Linked DNA regions of Homo sapiens: regions 2, 3, 4 and 5 are each linked to region 1. The links are contacts of gene promoters, found by promoter capture Hi-C in blood cells and fetal thymus (Javierre and others, 2016). All regions are on one chromosome and are shown on one strand. The core of a region is centred on a gene start or on the middle of the fragment in contact, and the rest is flanking DNA. Distances in the headings are between cores, read along the strand shown.

What was found. The method cuts DNA at HindIII sites, captures the fragments that hold promoters and counts their contacts. A CHiCAGO score of 5 or more calls a contact.
Region 2: a contact is called between a fragment that was not itself captured here and the fragment with the promoter of TLL1 in region 1, in 1 of 17 cell types (endothelial precursors). The highest score is 5.2, in endothelial precursors.
Region 3: a contact is called between a fragment that was not itself captured here and the fragment with the promoter of TLL1 in region 1, in 1 of 17 cell types (endothelial precursors). The highest score is 5.6, in endothelial precursors.
Region 4: a contact is called between a fragment that was not itself captured here and the fragment with the promoter of TLL1 in region 1, in 1 of 17 cell types (endothelial precursors). The highest score is 6.2, in endothelial precursors.
Region 5: a fragment that was not itself captured here is called in contact with the fragment with the promoter of TLL1 in region 1 in 1 of 17 cell types (endothelial precursors); the score reaches 5.4 in endothelial precursors.

The regions. Positions count from the first base shown.
Region 1 is chr4:165,871,050-165,876,504 of GRCh38, forward strand. It overlaps TLL1 (tolloid like 1), which reads left to right and starts at 2,188. Exons shown (of 21, transcript NM_012464.5): 1 at 2,188-3,024. The coding sequence starts at 2,856. The HindIII fragment of the contact is 7,346 bases long and covers 1,246-5,455 here.
Region 2 is chr4:166,121,727-166,127,181 of GRCh38, forward strand. No RefSeq gene overlaps it. Among named protein-coding and RNA genes, the nearest start is that of TLL1, 250 kb to the left of the region's middle. The HindIII fragment of the contact is 1,394 bases long and covers 2,758-4,151 here.
Region 3 is chr4:165,631,410-165,636,864 of GRCh38, forward strand. No RefSeq gene overlaps it. Among named protein-coding and RNA genes, the nearest start is that of LINC01179, 51 kb to the right of the region's middle. The HindIII fragment of the contact is 845 bases long and covers 2,439-3,283 here.
Region 4 is chr4:166,097,913-166,103,367 of GRCh38, forward strand. It overlaps TLL1 (tolloid like 1), which reads left to right. Exons shown (of 21, transcript NM_012464.5): 20 at 1,365-1,615; 21 at 2,830-5,455. The coding sequence ends at 2,964. Among named protein-coding and RNA genes, the nearest start is that of TLL1, 230 kb to the left of the region's middle. The HindIII fragment of the contact is 857 bases long and covers 2,369-3,225 here.
Region 5 is chr4:165,652,678-165,658,132 of GRCh38, forward strand. No RefSeq gene overlaps it. Among named protein-coding and RNA genes, the nearest start is that of LINC01179, 29 kb to the right of the region's middle. The HindIII fragment of the contact is 1,210 bases long and covers 2,321-3,530 here.

The DNA.
Region 1 (5,455 bases), core at 938-3,437:
AACTCCTTGCTCACATACATATTCTTGCAAATTTATGTTTCTTTCATGGACAAGGAAAAATCTATTTTTAGTTTGTAATCATAACAACTATAGAGACAAAATTAGTTTAAAAAAATGAAGTTTCTTATTACAACCTAGAGTTAGATTTAATATTTAAAAATAAATCAGGGATTAAGCCTGGGTATTGTGATGTAGGTATTCTCTGCAAGTATATTAGCTGTAAAGAAACATTCCTGTATTTTGACTTGAAGTTCTACTATGAAAATCATTCTAACTCTCTGGACTACAAATTCATAAAATTATAAAACCAAATAATGAAACACATGTTAAAAGTAATAGGTGTCATTATACATAATGAAGCTATTATCCCTATACAGTACTTTTTTTCCCAGAACAAATGAATAAAACATATTTATTCCTGCAAAGTAAGTGATGTTTAGGCAAACCACAGGTAAAACTTCTTGCAAATTTACACATGATAAAATAGTCTAAGGAGATGTTTGCAGGCATTTAGATTAACAAGGGACATTTTTAAGGTTTGGGATAGGGAATGGGAACACTGTCAGCAGCTCAAGAGCAGGAATCCTCTAGATGACATATGCATTCTCTAGGCTTTCAGATGGGCTAAGCAGGACATATTCTTGTTGAGCTCTGCACTAGGGCAACACTATTATTAATTATGCAAACTTTTTTTTTTTTGGATGGGTAAGAGAATTTGAGAATGACTCAGCAAGAGATTTCAAAATCAAACGCCTCTACCTGCTTATTGAACATGTTCTTTTTAAAAATCTACTTCTGCTCTGTATCCTGGGCATTAAAAGCTTAAGATCTATGGAAGGGAAGCTCCATCATTGCAGTGGCCTCTGAGAAAGACCCAGTTTTGCAAAGAACACTTGGTCAGTTCAGTTCCACCTAGCCTTCCTATACTTTTAGTTTAAGTTGAAAATACTTGGTACTTTTTCAAGATTGGCTTCTTACTTTTCTCTAACAAACATGAATAAAACCTAGTAAAATCTCCAAACCAAAGATGACTTTATCTGTCAAAGTTGTGTGTGTGTGTGTGTGTGTGTGTGTGTGTGTGTGTGTGTGTTTACCTTCATACATTCCTCTAGATGATAACTTGGATAGGGGGAACACTAGTCAAATAATATGTAAGGCTTTTTTTTTTTTTACAAGTCCTTGCTAAAGTGACAGTTTTAAAGATTTAGTTGGAAAAGGAAAGCTCCCAATCACCAGTCCCTTGGAAGCTTGTTGGGGGAGAAGTCATCTCACCTATTTTGGAAACTACTTGCAGATGTGGGGAAACCTCGGAATTGCTCACAACAGGGGTTTTACAGAGATTTCCTCTGATTTTTTTCCTCCCCAATTTCCCACAACCTGTGTTTGTCTTGAGTCTGCTCGGCTGACATGTGGTTTACCTCGCTGACCCTCCTGCCAGGTTTTACACCCTCTCCTCTGAAGAAGTAAAACATTACTGAAGCCGAAGGATACTGAGCAACTCTGCTCATGGGCGCCAGAACTGTCACAGAAAATTTGCTTCCCGAGTATTCCATCCAGCTTCCCTTCCTGCGCCCACGTGAGCCATAGCGCCAGCCCATCGGCAAGGTCTCAGCGTTTCCTGCTGCTGCAATCTGTAACTCGATTTTGGATTTTTTTTTTAATTGCAGTTCTGAGGATCTTAGTTCTTAGCAAAACTTTGTTGGTTAGGAGACCAACAGTAGTCTGTTTATTTTCTTACCAAAATCGTGAAGACTCGCACACTTTTCCTCCATTCCTGCGCTGCTCTAAGGTTAAACAGCAGCAAAGGAAAGAAATACACACTCGCTGTTTATTTGGGGGGAGGGGAAATATGGATTTGCAGCTAAGTTATCACGATCCTTCGCTCCACCCCCGGTCTGGCACTCTCAACTGACACGTACATCATCTATTAATTGCTGTTTGCGTACACAGATACATAATATATTCATTTTTATCTTTGGTAAAATATAAATGGAATTGTCAGCGCGCTCCTGTCTGTTTGTTTGTCTAAGGCTATCAAAAGAAGTCAAGAGAGGAGGCTGTGGTCCGGATCCTGACCCTGATTGTATGAATAAGTAAGCAGGATGCAAGTGATTGGGTTAGATGGTGCGAATATTTTTTTTTTTCAAGTTAGGAAGAGGGTAAAAAGACAGGCTGGCGGGGGGAAGGCAAACAGTGCATCCCCAAATCCTCACACTTTTGCTCTCTTGCAGTCAGTTGCTTTGCTGGCTTCTGCAGGCTTTTAAGGTCTCGCGGCGTAGAAATGCCTGGCCCCCACCCCCTTCCTCGGTCTCCCCTTTCAATTCAGATGTGCTGATGTGCAGACCGGATTCATCTTCTCGGAGCTGCGGCGGCGGCTTTGGGCTCAGGCGGCGGCGGCTCGCGCTCGGCCGCGGAGTCCTGGCAGCAGCGGGGACGCGGCGCGGGAGTCCGAGCTCTGGTGGCAGCTGAGCCCGCGGGGCGCCGCTCGCCGAGCCGCGGCCGCGGGAAGTTCGGCAGCCAGAAGGACGACCTGGCAGGCTGCGAGCGCCAGCGCCGCCAGAGCCGAGTTTGCCTGCGCCCTCCCCGCCTCCGAGTGCAGAGTTCCTTACCTGCCCTCCGCCCACCCGTGGGCCCCTAGCCAACTTCTCCCTGCGACTGGGGGTAACAGGCAGTGCTTGCCCTCTCTACTGTCCCGGCGGCATCCACATGTTTCCGGACACCTGAGCACCCCGGTCCCGCCGAGGAGCCTCCGGGTGGGGAGAAGAGCACCGGTGCCCCTAGCCCCGCACATCAGCGCGGACCGCGGCTGCCTAACCTCTGGGTCCCGTCCCCTCCTTTTCCTCCGGGGGAGGAGGATGGGGTTGGGAACGCTTTCCCCGAGGATGCTCGTGTGGCTGGTGGCCTCGGGGATTGTTTTCTACGGGGAGCTATGGGTCTGCGCTGGCCTCGATTATGATTACACTTTTGATGGGAACGAAGAGGATAAAACAGAGACTATAGATTACAAGGACCCGTGTAAAGCCGGTAAGTGGCTCTCCAGGTTGGGACGGTGGCGCGCCGGGGGCCGCTGCGCTGGGTTTCCCATGGGTGGCGGTGGGAGCTCACCTGTTTCCTTCCCTCCCGCGTCAGCCCCTCCGCCGCCCCTCCTTCTCTCCCCCTCCTTTTCCTTCCCTTCCCCACCCGCAAGTGGCAGCCGCTGCGGCCCCAGTTGACTAGAGTTCTGTGCCAGTGGGATCCACTGCCAAGCTCCCATCTCCCAGTTTGGGAATAAGGTCCTAGAGTTTCTGATCCCTCTCCCCTCCCCCAGCAAAACGAAACAAGTCGTAAATATAGCTTGCTGCTGTAGGTTTTAAATTCCAACACTCAGCGGGCTTTATGCATATGGAAGGGACACCGTCTTCTTTCCCCTCTCCCCCAGGGCGCGGTTTCCCAGCGCTTGTTCGAGAGCGAGTTGGCAGGGTTCCCCAAAAGATACAGGAGGATGGCATTGCTACCTGGAGACACCTTGGCTCCCTCTTTTACCAGGAATTTCAAGTGTGGGTTCCAGGCTAGAAAGGGATTGTGACAATCTCGGAAGAACTCACTTCTAGATGGGATTCTGATGCATTTGCCCATTTAAAATAAACTGAAAAGAAAAATGTTTTTAAGTTGCTACCCCATTCAAATTTGTGTCTTCCTTCCAGCTAACACCCCAGGGAAATGCAGTCGGACCGGCACTGCCTGAAGCTCAGCTTCTTGCCTCGCAGGGTCCCTGAATGTCCCAGGTCCTTCCCCTCCCTTCTACGCCTCTGGCGCCGCTGCCAGCCTCTCGCGCGCGCGGGGCGGCGCTTCCCTCTCGCCGCCTAAGGTCGGAGGCGCACGTGCCCGGGGCCGCTACCACGTGAGCGCAGCGCCTGAGGGCGCCCAGCACTGGCCGCGGCTCGTGTCCGGGCTTCGGGAGCTCCTGGTTCCTTGCTCTATTGGGCTGTGGCTGAGGTGATCCGCGCTCAGTGTGGACGCACAAGTAACTTCGTAAAGGTTGCATGGTGGTTGGGGCTAACCTAGCAGAGCGGTTTGTAAGCGGAAGGCACGTTAGGTTCCATCCCAAGAGGTGTGGGCTTTAGCGAAGCGCAGAGGAAGGGAGTGGACAAAGTCAAATATATCTAGGGTTCTGCAGATTCCGTGCGGGGTTGCTCTGTGACTAGCTTTTCTTCCCTTCCATAACTAGATAAGCATTATTCACCCTCTCTTGGGCCTGGAGGAAGGAGAGGTGTACACAATGAAGAAAAATGCTGGAAATTCCCTAGTTAATTTTTACCTTTGATGACCCATTGTTCTGACAAAAAGGGTATGTGTGTTGTGTTCACATTATCACATCTTTCTCGGTGCATCCTTAAATGCAGGTACTTATTTAAAAGCCAGAGTAGCTTAGCAGGAGCCTGTTAGGCTGGAACTCAGAATTCTGATTTAATTCAGTTTTGCTGATGAATTCCCTGCTGTCACTTTTAATAACTGTATCTATTTTCCCACTGAAAGTTTCTTGGGCCACCCCGGATGGTTTGGACAAGGAGATGCTGATTGCTGTGGTGGGTGACTAGTGGCTGGGCATTCAGAATCTGTTCTCTGCAACTCCTTAAATGTACTTTTTGCTAAGAAATTTCTTTTGAATAATGTTGTAACTTGCTGAAAATTGTGCGTTTTCTTGTTTGTGGTAAGGTAGAGATGAAGTACATTATTTCAAAAGATTGTCTAGGAAAACATCTACTTTGATACCCTGTTCTGTGAAAGATTCAAGCAGATAAGTATTTGCACCATGTGTATTGAAACACACCTCAGACATTAGTGTTTAGTTTCCTCAGCAAATAAACATCTAGGCAAGGAAAAAAAAAAACTTTAATAGCATTTACTTTTTGTTTCCCCTTTGATGCTGGTTTATTTTTGAATATAGCTGTTGAAAATAAAGCAACAATAAAACCAACGTTGAATGGATTATTACCCTAATCTTATTTCTTCTCTGTTTTTGAGAAGAGGCATACCAGTGCACACCTGTGTGTGTGTTCACACGCATGCATGTGTGTGTGTAATGAGAGGGAAATAAGAATGGCCTAAGTGGAGGGCTAAGAAGTATGCACAGAATGTGAATCCCTTTTAAAATTATCTACCCTGCTTTTGAATTTAGGCTTCAATTTACCATCTTGGCTCAATACAGGCAAAATTTTAGTGCCTCCTTTTTACCACTGGGAAAGTCAAATCAAAGTTCCAATAACAGAAAAAAAATGAAATACTACATTGAAATCCCAAGCAAGAGTCAAAAAAAAAAATCACTGAAATAAGGAAGATGGGGACGGGTCTGTGAAAGAAAGCCATGCAAAAGCAAAAGAGAAGGTACTTTCCAGACACTTGGGGCATCTTTGATCTGCCCTTTCCAAATAACAGATTGGAGGGCATGGCCCATGAAATAAAAGGCCCTTTCTGA
Region 2 (5,455 bases), core at 2,205-4,704, 250 kb after region 1:
TGAAAAACAAATATTTTTCTGGCTTTGAATTCTATGAAAAACAGATTGTGAATATTTAAATCACATTTCTCTTAAGTCTTCAATTTAACCTTACAAAACAGAAAGTAACTATTTTTCATCTTGGAATTCCTTAAATTACAACTCTGAGCAAGATAGAAAATATAACGTCAAAATTTTAGTTCACTAAAATTCTTCCTACAGGGAATCATAAGGAATCTGAACTAGATCTTATTTTTTTTCCACGTATAATCTGACATTTGACTTAATACAGGGAAAGAGTTTGGAGAAAGTTGAGGAATAAAGAGCTAGCCTGTCGTTAGACTGTGCCTATCATATATCAGCTCTCTCCAGTAAGCCTCAGGCAAGTGCTGCATCACAGCCTATTTATAGCTGCATCCTCTGACAAGTGCCTGAAGTACAGCTCTTCTACCGGTATTGATTATAGAAGTATCCATGTGATTTAAATTCCAGATGAACAGGAGGTATACATGACATCTTGTTTTGACAACTGAGGAAACTGACCTGCATTACCTTCCAAAGTCCATCTCAAATTAACACAGATGGACTCCATGACCGTCTACAGAGCTATTTAATTAGCTCCTGCATTTTAAAATGACTTTATTTTCCTAGGTGACGTTCTACATTAGGACGCAATGGAAGGGTTTAAAATCAAAATCTCTGTGGTTGAGTTGAGACTATATCCAGAGTTACAAAGCCTTGAAACCCACAAGTTTACAGGAGGAAACATTTTGTTCTCTCTCCAAAAAAAGGGACGTTTTGAAAAAAATTGACAATGTATATTGTCTTTCCTGGTGTCATGTTTTCAGCCATTATTGGATGAAGTTAAGTCAGCTGACCCTGATGCCTGCCATCTTTGAGAGCTCCCAGTTGAAAGGCCATCTTTTAACAACTATTTCAAATATTGGCTCTTCCTTTCCCCTCAATTCCAAGGTCTGCTGAAGCAAGCAGCAGCTCTCAGTAACTTTCTTTACTGTCAGTTGTGACAGCTCTTAGTAGCTGCCTTTCATTGAGTTAGTCTTTCTGATCTCTCTTATTTTCAGGCAGGTTCTAGGTTACTAATGTAGCCTCTAGTTTATTGTCTCTATACAACTTACAGAACATGGTAAAAACTTGGCAAGCTCTCCAGTGACATTCATGCAAGCCCTGTGTAAAACTAAAAGAACATTCTGAATCTGTGTCTCTTTGGAATTTTGTTATTCTTTTTGACCCCCTCAGGCATAACACAGACCCCAGATACACTGACTTTCAGCAGAGAATGAAGTTTCATGCTCAAAGAAGCTACTATATACATTTATGAATCACAATTTTTATTGCTTAGGGTCCCAACTTAAGATAAAGGTGTTAATCCATAATCTATGGTATTTATGGGAGAAACAGTTACAGGAAACTTGAATATTTCCTCACCTCATTACCTCTTCTGCACCAAGCAGTTGTGATGACTTGACATAAGAATGTTTAATAATGTTTCCAACTTTGGAAAGAGGCAAGCTTGAGGTTAACACTTATTTGATTGCTCTTCTGTTTGTTGATGGAAACATTAGTTTTGTAGAGATAGGTGAAGGGGGTATATGTAAAACCAGGGCTGCCTTTTTATGTAAAAGTAAAGGTGCCATTTTATAAAGAAATGTTAGCTTCAGAGAGGCAAAAGAGAGGAGCTCCAGAAATTACAAGGTTATTTCCATCCCAAACATAGAATATACCATTCACTACGGAAAATGAACCTTAGGAGACAGCTGTTTTGTTGCAGAACACAGGACAGAGCCCCATCCCACCAATAATCAAAGGGACCCAGTTCAGCTCTCCCTTTTTCCCCAAAAGAATATAACCTAAGCTAAGCCCTCAAACTGTTATAGCCAGAGAATACAAACAGCTTTCAGATAATTTGGAAATGGAGTCTCATAAAAGGGAAAATTCTGCCACACTCTATAAAAACAATTAGAGATTCTGAACAGAGCTTCAAAGTTAAGCATGAGCAACATAGCAAGAAATGATCTGGCAAAATGCCATACAGTCAAAAGAGCAACCTGCAGAACAAATGAAATCTCAAAAAGGAGAACAGGCCCAGTTGAACATTAAATTGCTAAAGTAGAGGAAAAGATTGAGATGATCATGATACAGAGGGAAAATATAAAAAAGATTAAAGTAAAAAGGGATCATAATAGGGAAAGACAGGTGCAGTAATATGACATAAAAGAATGAGTGTCTCGGAAATACATAACCTACATAAAAGGGAGATGTATTAAATGATACATCACCGAAAAATGTCCCTGAAATGAAGAAATCACTGAATCTGTAAACTGAAAGGGCACACACTAAATCTTACCTCAGTAAAGCTATGGAATTTTACAAGAATGAAAATATAATCATTCATGCATTCATTCTCATTAAAGCAAGAAGCATGAAAAAGGAAAAATCTATTTGGTCTCAGACATCTTCACAATAACCATCAATGCCAAAAGAGAATGGAAATGTGTCTGTAAGTATCATCTAGATAATATCCAAGACAGCAGGAACCACTTATTCACTGTTATACACACAGCACCTGTAGCAATCCATAGCATATAGTATAGGCACATTCTGAAACATGAAACAACTCAGAAAATGCACCTGCTAGTAAACATTCTTGGAAAAAGTCCAGTCAAGCAATAGTTGAATCAAAACAAGAAGCTTGAATGCACCTGCTAGTAAACATTCTTGGAAAAAGTCCAGTCAAGCAATAGTTGAATCAAAACAAGAAGCTTGAGAATGAAGAAGGTGTGATACTGCAACACTTTTACAAAATAATACATTCATTGTCCCAAGAGAACAGCTGGAAGAGCCTAAGAGAGGAAGAAAATTAAAACTCACCAGAGCTAGAAAATGGAATGATTTGGAATACAGGACCAAGAGTGAAGGTTTCATAGAATGAGAAATAAGAACAGTGTTGAAGAAACTAGAAAACAGAGAAAGGGAACTTTAATACAATATTATGGGAGACCTGAAAGTAAATATCAGCATTAGTTAATATTTGTTGTTTTGGAATGTATTCTTTAAATGCAGCATCTTCCTGAAACTTAGTTGTATTGTGCCCCAACTGTATGTTTGAGTGTGTATGCGTGGGTGAGTGTGTAGTTAGAATGTGAGACTCATGACTGCAGGCGTTTTTATCTTTTCACTACTATATTTCTAGCACCTACAATAATAGACTATCACCTACCTTGTGGCAAAGTAGTTGTTTATAATATTGGTTTAACAGATAGTTATTGAATAAATGATATTTTATTTTAGTTACTGCATTATTATGCAGTAAAAATTTTCTTATTATGAGATAATTATTTCAAAACTAGTGATAAGATTTATTACCAAATATTTCAAGAAGCCAGCTTTTATTTTGGTTGTTACTATCAACTAGGATCTTCATATTTAAGTAATTACTCCTTATCTACAATTTTATTTCCCTACAGTTTCTATCTGTTACCTCTTAGAATTATAAGATAAATATTTTGTATGCCAAACTACTTATATCAGAAATAATTTTTCAGAAGTGTATTTATTTTTGAACTTATATCAGTTTAGATGTGTAGGAGAGACATCACAGATAATGCAGTCCAACCATTTCATTTAAGAGAAGTGATGAGGTAATCTATGTTACTAAGTGAGCCGCCCAAGGTCCCACAACTCTCCATCGAAAGTTCTTTTCCTTCTATTTTAACTCCTTGCTTTATTGTTCTTCTTAAATGTTAAGGTACTATAGCATACAATATTTCAATCATTGCAAAATATTTCAAATAAAAGTATTTTATTTGAGTGTTTACTTCCAACATGAAAGTCTAAAGGGACTTTAATTCTCTAAACATCAGCTTCTCACTTTCCTCTCTGATGCTTGGGTATGTGTAGTTATATACCTACTCATCTGAACTCTTATGAACAATCTGCCAAATTTCAGAACCTATCCTCAAGACTTTGTTTACACAATCAATTTCCTGGACTCTGCCTTAATTCAATGTCCTTTTTTTAAAAAAATCACCCACTTAAATCCATAGTGGATATGAAAGGAAAAAGAAGACATGTGCCTCGTGTACAAAATTGTGCCTATTATTAATATTGTGGTAAGAACAGTTTTCTGACAGTGGGCAATTTTCCAAAATGTAAGCTTCTTGGCCCATTCTGCATGCAAAGAGAAACAGCAGAGCAAAATGCTGATAAAGAAAAATATGGTTTTGTAAGTATAAGACAAATGTATTATTTTAATCTTGGGGGAGTCTAAGGAAATTTTATTCTAACTTTTCTGTTATTGAATCTGAAGTTAAGATCTCATATATGAACAAGAAGAGTCGAATCCAGTATAGTGACCACTATTATTACATTAATAATAGTGTTACTTTAAATTAGTTATAAATTAAATTTGAATAGATTTCAACATCTTTTTTTTACATAAGAGAGTGAGTTCTTTAAACTTTAAGAAGTAAGGGAACTCAACATCATGTTTATCTATTTTTGTTCTAGATTAAGGGACAATGACTTAATTCTTGTGGATTTTCATGCAGGATGAAAGCGATGCAGACTCTGGGTAAATGTGTGTGGTCTGTTCTTTTTTTCAGATCCCCCTTTAATATCAATGACAGTTTGAAACTTAGGACTCACCTTTTCTACTCATACTGAACGTGCCACTCAGTTACTCTTTCTAGTTTTTCTGTCTGTAAACAATTGCGAATATATAATTCCACTGAGCGGGGTGATTAGGAATCATGCTTCATCGGTAAAATAAAATGTTTCTTGACCAAAGCAAAACCATAATGACTACAGTAAGTATTAATTTCATGAGTGAAACACTTCATTATCATTAAATTCTATCTCATTTGGTAAGATGTTGAAAGTAAATACAGAACTGTTTTAATTGGACAAAAATATACTAAGTAGCTAAAACAATAGAAAGTGTATTACAATATTAATACAGTGTTAATCCTAGCTCCTGAATTACTTTATAAATATAACCTTAATTATCTTTTGTAACTCTCTTTTTTTTTATTGTACCTCAAGTTCTAGGGTAGATGTGCACAATGTGCAGGTTAGTTACATATGTATACATGTGCCATGTTGGTGTGCTGCACCCATCAACTCGTCATTTACATTAGGTATATCTCCTAATGCTATCCCTCCCCCCTCCCCATACCCCACAACAGGCCCCGGTGTGTGATGTTCCCCACCCTGTGTCCAAGTGTTCTCATTGTTCCATTCCCACCTATGAGTGAGAACATGCGGTGTTTGGTTTTCTGTCCTTGTGATAGTTTGCTCAGAATGATGGTTTCCAGCTTCATTCATGTCCCTACAAAAGAAATGAACTCATCCTTTTTTATGGCTGCATAGTAACTCTTTTTTTTTCTTTTTGAGACGAAGTCTTGCTCTGTCTCTCACGCTGGAGTGCAGTGGCACAATCTCAGCTCACTGCCACCTC
Region 3 (5,455 bases), core at 1,611-4,110, 240 kb before region 1:
TCTAGAGGGTAGCAGATCATGTTGTTCCCTGGCTGCAGCCAGAACTTTTTACACATACTGGGGAGTCACGATGACTCTTAGATGCTAGCTATGTTTCTTGCAAATGGCAAAATCTTTGTCTTTTAAAGGTTGGGGCTTTGCTTGTCAGGGTATTGTTTGGAGGTAGAGGTGTGAGTGTGGGTGTGGCATGATGGGAGCCAGGGGCCAGGCAACTTGTCCCATAGCCATTACCAGAGAGGCTCTAGGAAGGTATATTTACAAGGTAAGGTACACTCCTAAAAGCCCTGGGCAGGCAATTAGAAGACCTATGGCAGCTACTGCCCTGATCCTTCTATTTAGTAGCTGTGATTTCTGACAAGTTATGCATAAACATTCTGGGTTTCAGGTTTCTGCTCTGAAAGTCAAGTATTTCTGCCCTGGGTTTCTTCTAGGCTTAAGAGATGGGTTCTGCATGTCTGATATTCTACATTTAGAATATTAAAGCACCTATGTTGCATCAAAAGAGATGGATTTGCCCACCTGGCAAGAAATGCTAATTATTTCTTAATGACAGGCTCTCTTGTGTAATAAAAATAGAAACAGGCCTTGTTCAAATTACATTCTCTTGGCAAGAGATTTGCTTGCCTGATCTCTGATAGCAGACTCCAGATCCTAATCATCAGAGACAATTCACCACTTGAAAAGGATCTGTTTCAGCTGCCTTTTTTTGCACCACTTGGCATCCTTTGACCTTCTCTGTCTATGGAGCTTTTGGCTGCTAGTTTTGTTCTAGCCACCACCATGGCAACCAGCTCTGTGTGGGTTTGTAGGACTTCACACAACCCGGTTAATATCGTCTGCTTGCTACCTGCTGAAGTTCAGCTGTTGCAGACCCATGGATGTACGGGACTAGTTTATATCCATTCGAGCACAGTATTTCATTCTGTTTTATTATCAGTGTATTAAAGGATTATAAGTAGCAATGACAAAACTGAATTCTCTAGACATCATGATGTTAAGCCATGGAGAAACAAACAGATTCTAACCTCACCATTTCTAATAGCATAGTATTTTTAGCTTTATTTAGTCACATGTTCCCTTGATTACAACATTTATTCATATATACTTAGAATAATGGCAGGGTCAGCAACCTGATTCCACTTTAAGTTTGTGTGCTTGAGGTTAATACTGTTATCTGTTATGTTATTAAAACTAATATAATAATTTTATTTAACTAGTTGTGTTCGTTAATGGTTCCTTTGGGCTTTGTATGCAGTTGGAGGAAGTTGGAATTGCTGAAGACAAGGCTTGGCAGTGACCCTCCCTTGAAGCAGGTTGGTGAACACAACCGTCATTGCCACAAGAGACAGCATCAACATGTAGATAAAGGACAAATACAAATCTAGAGAGAGAGAGAAATGATGATAGCAAGGGCACAGATATTTATGAAGAGACAGAAATGAAAATAATGTATTATATTGAAATAAACTTGTGCTTAACATCAAAAAATTAAAAATGATATGACAATTTTTTCTTTAATCGATATACTGTCTTAGGACAAGGACTATTGCTAAACTCATAAAACAGAGTAAATAAAAAATACCTAAAGACTTAGAAAAGACTAGATGAGGCTATCTGAGACCAGGTCCCTACCCACTCATGATTCAGCATAATTCAAGAAATACTTAATGAGCTTCCACTTTATGCTACATTATGTTATCTTAGGTAAAAAGGGAATGCAGATTAAAGAAATAATTTCACACCACAAAGAATTCACACACTGAAGATAAGACAAACACGAAAATATTTTAAATAGTAAGTCAAGTGTAGTAAGTGTCAAAAGAGGTACAAAAAAAAATTCTATTTAACTTCCAAGTAAATTAAATCACTTTTGGTGGGGGATCAAAAAAGACTTCATGATAGACAATTCACACACACTCACACACACACATATAAACACACACACACATAAATAATAATGGCCAATAAATATATGGAAACATATTTAACTTCAATAACAGTTGAAAGAATTTGAATTAAAATAAATGTATCAGGAAGAAGCAATAATTCTGCCTATGTCAGTGTTATATCTCTTTATAACTCCTTCTTAGTTCTTCTCTCTTAAAAGAAAAAAAGTGGCTAAACTTATTGGTCAAATCCAAAGAAACTGATTAGAATATATTGACAAGTAGGAAGAACAACTATAAAATAGCATATGATCTGCCAACTCCTGTAAAATTGTAATATTCTGCTCAGTAAGGTTTTCCTTTATCTGCCCACCTAAGAAAGTTTTTCATAACACTTTTGATTATTTTACCTTGAATTCCTTTGTCTATAACCTTGAGATGATAGGAAATTGAATTTTATATGAGGAGGCTTCAAAATATTCAAGGAAAATTGAATTAAAAAATAAAATAAAATTAAATTAAATTAAAATATGAACTTTGTTTCTCAACATAAGCTTCATCAAGTTAAAGAGCCATTTTCTCCATCCCTAAATAACTGAGTCCTGGGAATTTAACCATGTCAATGTAGTCATATATATATATATATACATATACATATATGAATGACTTCTACCTTTGTTTGTATGTATATATAAAAGTCTACAGCTCTGATTTCAGAGCTCAAAGACAAGGTTTTCTAAATAACCCAATATTTAGATTCAGAACTCAAAGACCAGGCTTTCTAAATAACCCAATATATTATTATTATTAACTGAAAAAAATGGGCACCTTTTACAGATATTTTAAAATTAAGAAAGAAAACAAAGGTAGAAAGAACCAAATCAGGATTGTAAGGTGGATGCTTAATGATTTCTTGTCAGAACTCTCATAGAAATAGATAGCATAAATGAAAAATAATCACAACTTCTGGAAATGAAGGACACACTTAGAGAAATGCAAAATACACTGGGAAGTCTTAGCAAAAGAATAAACAGATAGAAGAAAGAACTTCAGAGCTCAAAGACAAGGCTTTCTAAATAAACCAAATTTTTTATATATATATATATATACACACACACACACGTATATCATATATATACATGTACGTATATTTTATATATGTGTGTATATATACACACACACATATTATTAACTAAAAAAAATGGGCACCTTTTACAGATGTTTTAAGAAAACAAAGGTAGAAGGAGCCAAGCCAAATTAGGATTGTAAGGTGGATGCTTAAAGATTTGTCATCAGAACTCTCATCACATTGTCTTGGTGTGATGAGGGAATGAGCAGGAACAGTGTCATGGTGGAGAAAGACTCCTGGTGAAGTTTCCTGGGTATTTTTTTGCTAAAGCTTTGACTAACTTTCTCAAAACACTTTCATAATAAGCAAATGTTATTGTCTTTTGGCTCTCTGGAAAGTCAATAAGCAAAATACCTTGAGTATCTGAAAAGCTGTTGCCATTATCTTTGCTCCTGATTGATCTGTTTTTGGCTGGACAGGACCATTTTCACCTCTTGGTAGCCATTGCTTTGATTGTGCTTTGTCTTCAGGATCATACTGGTAAAGTCATGTGGCAATTAGTCATCTCCTGTTACAATTATTTGAGGAAATGCTTTAGTATGTTGATCCCACTTATTTAAAATTTCCATTGAAATGGCAGCTATTGTTGGCAGCTGATTCTGGGTGCAATGGTTTTGGCAACTGCTGATTGGAAAGTTTGCTCAAATTTAATTTTTTGGTCAGAATTGGGTAAGCTGAACAATTGAGATGCCTATAGTGTTGGGTATTGTTTGTGCTGTTAATTGTTGGTCTTCTTCAATTAGGGGACAAATAAGACTAATTTTTTCCTCCCAAATTTAATGTGGATGGTCTGGTGTTTCAGGCTTCATTTTCAATATTATCTTGTTCTATCTTAAAATGGGTCAATTTGTTGGAAATACCACTGGTAGATGGAAACTTCCAGCTGAACTTTGTAACAGTTTTTACCAAACATGAACTTTCCTTGACACAATCCAGGAGAGGCAGCGAACAGAGAGTGCAGATACAAGCACAGAAGCTGTGGCAGATGGGGAGGTATGAAACCTGAAAGCCCTGCTTGCTTTCTCAGTGGGGAGGCTCATAGCCTGGGGCATGTTCTCAGCCCTGTTCACTGGCTGCCTGGAAATAAACTTGGTGCTGTTGTGGAGGCATGGCGGGATTGAGACTGGCCTTTCTGGCTGTGTGGAAGCTGGGTGAGGCCTGTCACTGCTGGCTTTCCCCAACTTCCCTGGAGCCATGTACAACATAACAAAGGCAGCCATAATCCCCCTGGGAACATAACTCCATTGGCCTGAGAGCCACACCCTCATCCCCCACAGCAGCTGCAGCAAGCCCTGCACAAGGAGAGTCTGAGCTCAGACATGCCTAACCCTGCCCCCACCTTATGTTTTTTTCTACCCACCCTGGCAGCCAAAGACAAAGGACATAATCTGTTGAGAGTTCCATGGCACTGCCCACCATCTGAGAAACCCTAACACTTATCCAGGCAACCCTAGGGCAAGCTTATATCCACCCTACACTATGGCAGCTGATGCTGTCTTGAAAGCCCCACCTCCTGGCTGGAGGCCAACCAACAAAAAACAAGCACACTAAATAAAGCTACAACCAAGGACTCTCACAGAGTCCACTTCACTCCCCTGCTACCTCCAATGGAGCAGGTGCTGGTATATGTGGCTGAGAGACCTGATGATATCACAGGACTCTTTGCAGACATTCCCCAGTACCAGCCTGGAGCCCCATAGCTCTTCTGTATGGCTAGATCCAGAAGAGTGATAACAATCACTGCAGCTCGGCTCTCAGGAGGCCCCATCGCTAGGGGAAGGGGGAGAACACCACATCAAAGGAGCATCATGTGGAACAAAAGAATCTGAGCAGCAGTCCTTGAGTCCAGGATCTTCCCTCTGACATAGTCTACCCAAAAGAGAAGGAACCAAAAAAACAATTCTGGTAATATGACAAAACAAGGTTCTTTAATGTCCCCCGAAAGATCACACTAGCTCACCACTGATGGATCCAAACCAAGACAAAATCTCTGAACTGCCAGAAAAAGAATTCAGAAAGTCAATTATTAAGCTACTCAAGGAGGCACCAGAGAAAGGTGAATACCAACTTAAAGAAATAAAAAAAAGATACAGAATATGATTGGGAAAATCTCCAGAAAAATAGATAGCATAAATAAAAATAATCACAACTTCTGGAAGTGAAGGACACAATTAGAGAAATGCAAAATACACTGGAAAGTCTCAGCAAAAGAATCAAACACGTAGAAGAAAGAACTTCAGAGCTCAAAGGCAAGGCTTTCTAAATAACTCAGTCCAACAAAGACAAAGAAAAAAGAATTAAAAAATGAACAAAGCCTCTAAGATGTTTGGGAATATGTTAAACGACCAAACCTAAGAATAACTGGTGTTCCCAAGGAAGAAGAGAAATCTAAAAGTTTGGAAAACATATTTGAAGAAAACTTCCCTGGCTTCGCTAGAGA
Region 4 (5,455 bases), core at 1,547-4,046, 230 kb after region 1:
TCTACTTTCTCCTGACACTTTTCATATCCCATTCTTTTATCTCCCTCCTAACCACCATGCTTGCTTGGATAGGTTGGTGGGGCATTGTAGGCTTTCTGCCTTTATTTAATCTCCAGTAATTAAAAAGTTATAGGGCTCTGGCCAGGTGTGGTGGCTCATGCATGTAATCCCAGCACTTTGGGAGGCTAAGGCAGGTGGATCACTTGAGGTCAGGAGTTCAAGACCAGCCTGGCCAACATGATGAAACCCTGTCTCTACTAAAAATACAAAACATTAGCCACATGTGGTAGTGAGCGCCTGTAGTGCCAGTTACTTGGGAGGGTGAGGCAGGAGAATTGCTTGAATCTGGGAGGCAGAGGTTGCAGAGACCTGAGATCACGCCACTGCACACCAGCCTGGGTGATAGAGCGAGAGTTCTTCTCAAAAAAAAAAAAAAAAAAAAAGCTTTGGGGCTCTGACTACAAAGTGTTCCTGAGAAGTGTGTTTGAAACCTTTTATTCTCTAAATTATACTAACTAAAAGGTTTTATGGACACTTATTTATTTCTTTGGTGTATTTACCTTGAGCAACAAAGTTCACTCAAAAATAACTGGTATAGCCTATGCTTATTAATTTATCTTTTTTAAAGGAGCTTTGAGGAACATTTACTATTTTTTCATGTAATAAACACAGGCTATTGTTGGATAGGTTGTAGAACTGCGAAGATAATTATAATTAATGATATATGTAGGTTTTTCCCCATCAAGTGAGATAAATATTTCTATCGAAGTAAAATACTACTATTGTATATATTCTATATAGAAAGTTCTATATAACACAAACACACGCAGAGGAGTTTTATATCTATTGTTGAATTTTAAGTTACTTCTTACTTCTTTGCATTTGGGGTTCTTAAATTGTTACGATTAAACTTGAGTTAATACTCTGGCATCTTCTTTATGAAAATAGTTATTTGAGACTAGAGACAGTATTAGGTAGAACAATTTTAAAAATTATTGAGTTACTAAGTGGTAGATTCTAAGTGATTTTCATGTTTTAAATTCTCAGACCTCACTAAAATTGGTACCATTATTTTCATCTGTATTTTACCCTTGAGAAAAATATGGCTCAAAGACATCACTTACCCAGAGTCACAGAGCCAGCAGGCACTGGGACTGAGATTCCAACCCAGGTCGTCCATGTCTGGGGCCTGGGTGGACACCCATGACACTATCTGACTCTCCAGTTGTGGAAAACATATCTGACGCTGGAAGTAGAAACAGAAGTTAGACAATGGCTAGGCTACACTGAAACTACACTGAAATTTAAATTGGACCCGTTAAAGCTCATTGACCTTACTCATCTTATTTTTCTTTCCTGGGCAGAGTGTGGCGGACGATTGAAAGCAGAATCAAAACCAAGAGATCTGTACTCACATGCTCAGTTTGGTGATAACAACTACCCAGGACAGGTTGACTGTGAATGGCTATTAGTATCAGAACGGGGCTCTCGACTTGAATTATCCTTCCAGACATTTGAAGTGGAGGAAGAAGCAGACTGTGGCTATGACTATGTGGAGCTCTTTGATGGTCTTGATTCAACAGCTGTGGGGCTTGGTCGATTCTGTGGATCCGGGGTAAATATACCACCAACAGAATACCCTAGACATGATTAAAGATGCCTATTGATTCATGATTGATATGTGTACCATTCACAAGTTGGCAATGCTTTTTGCAAAAAAAAAAAAAAAAGGCTACATTGTATTATAAATGGCTTGACAAAATATAACACGTCTCTACCCTTATCACTTCTCCACTTCTAATGAATTTGCCTGAATAATATCAGGTGAAACCGATGAAATCAGTAGGTATAATTTCTTGTCACTTTTCCATTGTTCTAACTTCTTATTATGCAATAAATATTTAAATACTTAATCTAACAGCAGCATATTTACACACACACCATAGACAATTCTGTCACGTTTCTGAATTAAAGCATAAAGGAAAAAAATAATATGCACACCATTCTAATTCACATTCTCTTTTTAACAAATATATTTGGAGGCGGTGGCAGGGTCAGCCACTGGTGTGTGTACACAGGCAGTGCTACAGAGACACTGTTCCATTGCAGAGTGTCACTTGTGCAGGTGCAGAGTGCAGGTACAGGTCAGAAGACGTCACCATGAGAAATAAGGAAAAGAAAAACATAAGGTTTTCTCAGTGCTTTTCCTCCAGGATTCACTGCATTAATATTTATATATTTATAGTCTTCTGAATACATATTTTGTCCTGAAGATAGTAGTCCCAGTTTTTCAAACGTCTACCAGTAGCTATTGCTTCAGTAATACTGTTGAACTCCTGCCCAAATGACAACTGAAATATAATGAAAAAGCTTCTTGATGCTTAGAGTATTAAAACAAGAAATAATGGACAATTTGGATTTTGGAAGTGGCTCTGCTCCAGAGCAGCTTCTGAAACACATTTAGTATCTCTTTACACTCTCTGAACCTCACTTTACTGATTTGTAAATCAAGAGAACTTGGCTTAAAAGTTTAGGGAAAAACACTCAAGTTCTAGAGAGAAAAGTGCCCAGAACTTAGAAAATGTAACGTATGTTCAGAGCTCAGCTACATCACCGACTAGTCGCGTGAGCTCTAGCATGTCATTTTCTTCTCCGAATCCCATTTTCTCCTCTATAAAGTGAAGAAGTTGATTACACCTACTCTCCAAGGTTGTTGGGAGGATTAAATTATATTCCAAAGACAAGTATTCCCAAACATGCGTTACACTGAAGAAAAAGTGATTCGTTTTATTGCTTGTTTACTTGCTTGTTGTTTTTGTTTTCCTTCAGCCACCAGAAGAGATTTATTCAATTGGAGATTCAGTTTTAATTCATTTCCACACTGATGACACAATCAACAAGAAGGGATTTCATATAAGATACAAAAGCATAAGATATCCAGATACCACACATACCAAAAAATAACACCAAAACCTCTGTCAGAACACAAAGGAATGTGCATAATGGAGAGAAGACATATTTTTTTTAAAACTGAAGATATTGGCACAAATGTTTTATACAAAGAGTTTGAACAAAAAATCCCTGTAAGACCAGAATTATCTTTGTACTAAAAGAGAAGTTTCCAGCAAAACCCTCATCAGCATTACAAGGATATTTGAACTCCATGCTTGATGGTATTAATAAAGCTGGTGAAAGGGCATCATATACTTCAAGGAAGACTCTACAAGCTTTTGTTCACAGCTTGAAATAGATGCCTCACAATTCAGACAGTTTAATTCAGGAACTGTGACCCTGCAGTGTTCTTTTTGACAATTTGTCAAGATTTAGGGACATAAAATGATCTTGCAGGTCGTAAACTGGAAAACAGTATTTTGGTTGTCTTAGGATAATTGCTGACTTTGTATCTTGGATACAGTGTAAACCAGATCCATATAAGGTGAATGTGAAATGGGAGTCTTCTGAGGGTGATTTGTACTTTCCATGTGTATGTGTGTGTCTGGTGTTTGGAAACTGGGATATTTCAGCTTCATTATTTCCACTTGCAGGCCAGCTTAACCTCTGAAACACAAATGATCTTGAGACCACTTTAGTGTACTTACATTTAGATGAGTTTGAAATCTCAATGGTGTCTAATTATTGCAGTTAAATTCTAGACATCAGTTCTTTAAGTCTCAGAAAACGCCCAGTGAATTGGTAAACTTAGTTCTTTTTTTTGGAAGTGCTGCCTTTTCACACCAAATCCAAGAAGCCTGTGATGTCTTATGAACCTTATGAGAAAACTCCGAAGAGGTGTGAGCAGGATTCTTCTGAATGACTGTCTGGATGGTTCATTACTCAAGTTACTGCTGCTGCTATTGTCTTTCCTTTGTTGTCGATCTGTTATTGTTGTATTATTATTGTTGATGTTGTCATGGTTAATCTATTTTTTAAAATTGAAATGAAGCAGAAGTAGGCCTTGTGAGAACTGAAAGGTCTCTTTCATTTTTCTCTTCCTGGGATTCATTTTTTCAAAACACAATGCTGGAAAAAAAAGATTTGTTTCTGAAAGACTTCTTATGGTGCTATTCCATAAACTTTTTTTCAAACAAGTTTTTGACCTTTGAGCCAACCCACCCGTAGACTACGAATGTCTCCCTATGGCTGGTAGCATTTGAAGACTAAAGACTTGTCAAATATATCAAGAGTATATCATTGCAAGGGCAGCACTTGTCCTGTGGAACAACTACTTATAATGCCTTAGAATTCCTGCACATGATCAAACAGATCCTCCTAAAACACACCTTTTGAAATGTTGAACATAATAGTGTATGTTAATTAACAGCTCTATGAAGAAAATCCATTTCCATGACTGAAGCATTGGATATAAATATGGTGTCCTGCTTTTTTTGTAGAAAATGTAATTTGAGGATGAATTTTCTGCTTTAAAGGCATGTGTGTTTTTAAAATTAATGAATGTAGATGTGTGATTGTCTGAGTGAGTGAAACTACAAGAGGTAAAAAATAATGGGTGGTTGAAAAGTTAAAATGTATGTGCCAAGTTCTACTAGAATTCCATTTGAAATAGCACCTTCCTTAGGTTTCATGGACAAATAATGGGAACTTCTAATTTTGATCAATCCCATTAAAAAAAGGCTCTTTCCTTTAGAGAAACTCTATTTTGATGTCAATATAGATTACTGTATGAAGTAGCTTTGTGTCTGTTACCTGTCCATGAGCATACAACATTGAATACAATTGGGTGTATTCTTTCAGTTTTACACAATTAAAGTATACACACAGATGTAGCTTATCTGTTTTTTTCTTAAATTGTTGCCCTGAAAAAATTTCTTGCATATGAATTGTAAAATGTAAATACATTTTTATAACCAATGTTTTGATCTTATTGAATGTTACTTTGAAAATGTATAACTATTGCCTGCAATGTAGATGAGCCTTTTAGTAGAGCTGATTTATTCCAGTAACTTCTTCCATATTTTCTCACTAATCTCCCGTTAGCCAAAATATGCCAGAAATGGGAAAGAGAGGAGAAAAAGTCATTAACATTAACACCTATACTGTTCTATACTACTCCTACCCGTGTGCTAGGAATGTGCACTAGCTCTTTTTAAATTCCATGCTACACTTTGAGGACTGTCATCATGTTCTCGTTTTGTAGTTCAGAAAGTGAGGCTCAAAGAATTTATGTAACCTTCCCAGAGTCACAGTGTAAAGTTAGATGTTGAAACCCAGTTTATCTTATACAAATGAGCCTCTGCTTGTTCTACAAAGGTAGTAGAATCAATCTCGACCTATATAAATAGTAGATTTTTTATGGTGAAACTTTCCCACATAAAGTAAATTTTAGGGGTGAATTAGAGTAAAACTTACAGGATAAGCATTTTGCTCTTTTTAAGAACAGCATGAAATTTAGAATACCAATGATAGCTATCTTTAAGAATCAGAATTAGTACTAGAA
Region 5 (5,455 bases), core at 1,676-4,175, 220 kb before region 1:
GAACTGTGGAAAATAAATTTCTGTTTTTCATAGGCCACCTAATCTATGGTATTCTGTTATAGCAGCTCAAATGGACTAAAATACTCAGGATTGATTGTAAGTAAAAATAGACTCTGAGGCATGCTAGACATAGATTAAATGAATGGAATTAGTAAAGAGAGCATACGTGTTGAAGATAGGTACAAAGAAGGGAAGAACCAATAAAGTCACTGAATATTTATGATTTTCAGGTTTTATCACTTTGTGCACCTGTTGGTGGCATCCATTCTGGCCCCATATATACTTTCCCAAAACAAATGGATCAAAGTTATGGCTGCTCAGCTAGTTATTGGTGAGTTTGAGCTATGGCAAGTATACTTGCTCTTGTGTCTTTTGAATAGAAAAAGAGTGTTTACTCCAGGCACCTCTTATCTGCTAAGCCAACTTGTTCAATCTCAATTATGGCCTTTATAATCACACTGGCTGTGTGCTGAGGTTGCAGGGAGGCAAGAGATCAGGAAGAGAGAGAGAGAAAAAGAGAGAAGACAGGATACATAAACATTGCCTGACCAAGGACTCAGGTAGTGTGGCCATTATATTCCACTTGCATGATGTCCTAAGTGCTTTAAGTTGATTCAATAAGCTTTGTGATTTGAGTGTCTTAACTTGTTCAGTGAATCTTTCTCGAATAGTTTGTCTAATAGTAATAAACTAAGAGGCTATAATATTGTGTCAATTTTCTATTGAGACAATAAGTTTACATAGAGAATAAAAGAGAGATGGAAGGAACATTACAGAGTACCTACTTAAATTCTAGTATTTTATACCATAGGAATATATAAACAAGGAGGGATTTAAAAATTTGTGGCTAATCATGTCTGAAGCATATGTAATATAACAGTAGTTCTAACACTTTATTTTAAAACTGATATTAGTTCATTATCTGTACACAATAAAAGGAGACAAGTTGGAGTTTTAAAAACATTTTAGTTATAATTCATATGATGATTCTGTTCCTTCTATAATACGGGGTATTACTTTCTGATGAGGGTATGCCATCTGACACTTTATTATTTTTTCTGACATACTTATATAATGCTTTTACTCCATAAAATCAGAACTATTTGGTCTGTCTTATATTCAAATTGTGGAAACTTCAGGGAAAGAAATCTGATTTGTAGTTAGAGATGTATTCTGGTCAAGACAGCTCAGTAATTTCATGCATTGCTCTAAACACATAGCAATGATAGATAAATTTAAAAAGAGTTAACCCAAAACTAAACAGATAAATCTTATTATTGACCAATGATAGGAGGGCTGACCTATTGGGCTTTGGATACACAAACCTGTAGGAGTAGTTTTGAACTCTGTTCCCACAGGGTAAAGTGAACAGGGATGAGGACTTTATATGCTAGAATTCTGCAAATAGGAGGGCTCTACTTGTATGAAAGAAGCCTTTGAAAATGATCACGGTTTCTCATAGCTTCTATGGCTACAGATTTTAGTAAGCCATAGACTTAGAGGACCCACAGAGACCCTGTGATCATGAATAAACAAAGATGCCCACATGCTCTGTGTCCAGATCTCACAAATGGCTGTAGGATAGGTGACCCAAAATACCACTACAAGACCTGCTACTAGAGAGACATCCCTTGGGTTGGGTGGAAGAAGCATAGATGAAACACATATAAGATCAAAGTTATAGAAATTCTCTGATCCAAACTAAGCCCATAAACAGAATTCTAAAATTCATGAAGAAACTTAACTAATAAGCAAGATAGTAAACAAATTATGTAGTAAGCACATAAACTCATTGTAGATAAAATTAATTTTAAGAAGCAAGTTTATAATATGTATATTTAGATGCTCTCTGCAATAGGCCAGCTGGTCCTAAACTAGCCACCCAGCTTAAATGACTATAAAATAGGACAAAATATATAAAATTATTGCTTTCAGCCTTGTGATTAAAGGTGTAAGAGAGTGATTCCCAGTGGTGGGCAGTATACGAGGCAAGCTGTATGGTGTCCCTGACTTTCTGTTTGGAGATCCTTTCTAATCTACTGTGCAAGCATGCAGAACTCAAATAAAGCGCAGAGTGTTTGCTGAGTTGAAGTGCAGAGATCAGAGTTTGGGCTAGTGAAACAGCTGGGATGTATGAAGAAAGTTACCAGAGAGGAGAACACTGCAAAAAGAAGGAATTCCTGAAATCTAAATTACACATTCTCAGGGCAAGACTCCACAGGAATAGGCAATAAATAAATAAATAAATAAATAGAAAACCTACCAGAGAGCTAAGAACACAGCAACTTCAATAGCTTGCAAAGGGCTGGAAGCTATTGCAAGCTTTAATTTCAACTAACTGGATGGAGGAATATCAGGAGACACTTGGGATTTCAGTAGAAGTTTCAGGCAGCCATCACTTAGGAATAGGGCTAACGTATCCCTAGAGTAAAGGCAACTCTAGACCATGCTAACAATGTTTGAAAACAAGCCTTGAAAGGATTGAGCAGAGCTACACATGAATGAACTGCCTACCAGAACAAAACAAAAGTTTTAAGGAAGACAACAAAATTCAGACATGCAAAAAGGCAGTACTCATAATGTCCAGCACACAATAGAAATTACTAGATATGTAAAGAAGAGGAGGAAGAAAAAGAAAAAAAAAAGTGGTCCATAGCCAGGAGAAAAAGTAGTAAAAAAACAGAGATTCAGCATTATGGAAATGATGGATTTAGCACACAAGGACTAGAGAATAGCTATTGTAAATATGTTCAAAGAATTAAAGGCAACACGAATATAATAAGGGAACAAAAAGGTAATCTCAGCAGAGAAAAGGAAACCATATAAAAGAACCAAACGGAAATCCTTGAATTGAAAAATACAAAATACAAAATGAAAAATACTATCACTTCTGCAGCTGTAAACCTTGGTGTCCCTTTGGTTATAAATAAACAATTACATAATCCCTTCTAAGTAAGCATAGAAGTGAAAAGTAAATATGAAAATTTAGAGGTTATTCATAACACTAAGTCCTTGGAATCAAGAGCAAGAAAACAGAAGTTAAGGTAGCTATTCTCTCAGCCCCTCTAACTCTGACCACAGGGCTTTGCGTCTCTGTTTTCATCTATATATGTGCTTCAAACTCTCTCTCTCCCTGTAGCATGATTTTCTCTGAAAACATGGTTGTCCCATATCATCCAAGTTTAAAGATTCAGTTGCAGTATAAGCTAAGGAAATTATTTTCCCTTAATTTCAATTCCAAACTCCTATGGAAAAGAATCTAAGTGATCAAACCGAGGTCAGGTATTTACACCTGTCTTAATTTTCTACAGCTCTGGGGACTAATTAGTGCTATCTGAACAAACATGACCACCAATGACACTTCCAAAGATTTTTTTTTCTGAAAGAAAGAACACTCATTGAGTGAGCCTACCCTACAAGTCAGCATATGGACATCAATATACTTTGGTAGTTAGTTCTAGAAAGTAAAATATGCATTTCATACCTTTTTAAAATTAGATACAGTAAATACCATATTATCTGTATTGGCAAGCTTTAAACCTTTTATAAAGTACAGGAAATTACCATGTCCTTGTAAAAGTTAAAAAAATAATTTATCCAATAAAATGAATAATCAATCTTTGTGTATTTTTTTTTATTAGGAAGATAAAGATAATGCTTCCTTTCCTTGGGCATAATGACTATATAAACCACTTACTACATCTTCATGTCAAATGACCCTTCCTTCTAGGGTCTGATTGTCAAATGTAGATAAAAGCAACAGAAACTAAGGATCATAAATTCTAGTCACACAAGGCTGGAGCTATGGACTTTTCTTAAGCTGGTACATTTGTCTACACTTTGTGTGCAGGGCAGACTGCAATCCCTTGCTGTATGGCTTTTGAACCTAATAAGAAGCTAGTAAATACCCTGGGTTACCAAAGAAAGACTTACTCTAAAGCATGGGGGAATAAAGGAGACATACTGCTGACTTCCTGATTCTCCTCTTTGTTCTTGTTTCATTGATCTGGAAAAAAAAAATAGAGAATGTCAGAAAAAGTTGAAACCTATTCACGGTTGTGAAACTCTCTAAGAGCAACCTTCAAAAAAGAAATAATAGGAATTAGGGTTTAGAGATAACATGTAGACATTCAAGTAACTAATAAGAAGGGTGGAGGATGGGCATGATGAACAGTGCATGCTGCAGGATTAATTTAAGTAAAGCCCTAGTAGTTTAGGTGAGAAAAGAACATAGTCTTAAGATCTTTGCTTAAGATGGGCTGTGCATCTGATGCACCGTTGGAAAGATGGGCTGTGCAGAGTAAGAAGAGAATTGACATGATTCAATTGTTTTTATGGGTTCAGATGCCCAGAGGAGTGGAGACTTGGGGCTACAGTTTTAAAGGACGGGTGAGATTCAATCATTTGGGCCTCACTATTTTGCCATGCTTACCATCTGAGATCACTTCCTCTTTAAAAATTTTTTTTTGTTTGTTTAGCTTTGCTTTGTTTGCATGTTCAGCAATGCTGGGCATTATAGCTTCATTTGGCACTAACAGTGACCCTCAACTGTAAACGGAATGTAACACTGCCCTTTTGTGAATCACTTTGGGCTCCTCTTATTTTGCAAATGGAGAGTCTTGACTTCCAATAAAACTTAGGAAATCCTCAGCAAGGGCTTTATTGTCTTATTAAAACTCCAGTAATTAGGGAAATCGGTCAGCCATCATCTCACTTTTGTGTGTGTGCTCTCCCACTATGCCAATTTGTCCATTCACCCATGGATTTGACATGTTCACAGGAATTTCTGCCTAGAGCAGTAAGAAAGTTGAAGCATGGATTCTTATTAGACTGATAAAATTAGACAGGACAAATCACTTAGAAAAATTCATTAGGAAATAACACTGAGTAAGAAAAGAAACGAGTAATTATTCTACAATCGTTCTGTTATTCTATAGCAGGCTTTTAAGAAAACAACTGACTTGTTAAGTGTCAAAGCATTTATTTTTAAATAAATTATTCTCTCCACTCAGTGAAACTTACTCATATGTCAATGTAAAATATGGCCATCTTTTTAGAGCAAAGGATGATACCCAAGTTGCATTATAATCTGCCTGTTACTGTTACAGTGGTTATTGTGATAATTTCTATTTCTATGCTTGTACCTAATATATGGTTTTCAAAGCATTATCAAATAACACAAATAGCTAACAACAAGGGAAAAGTTTTAAAATTATGATGCATGAGGTTAAATATTTTCAAATAATGTTAATTGATCAAAAAATGCTTTTCATAAAATTATGATTAAAAACAAGTACAGAACTCTAAATGCAGCATGATGCTAATTATATATATGTATATATATCTATTACTATCTTGTTTTAGTTTTTATATATATATCTATTTCTCTACCTATAAATACATCAAATACATCTATATAGTCTAGAAAGTTATACAGTTGACCCTTGTATAACAC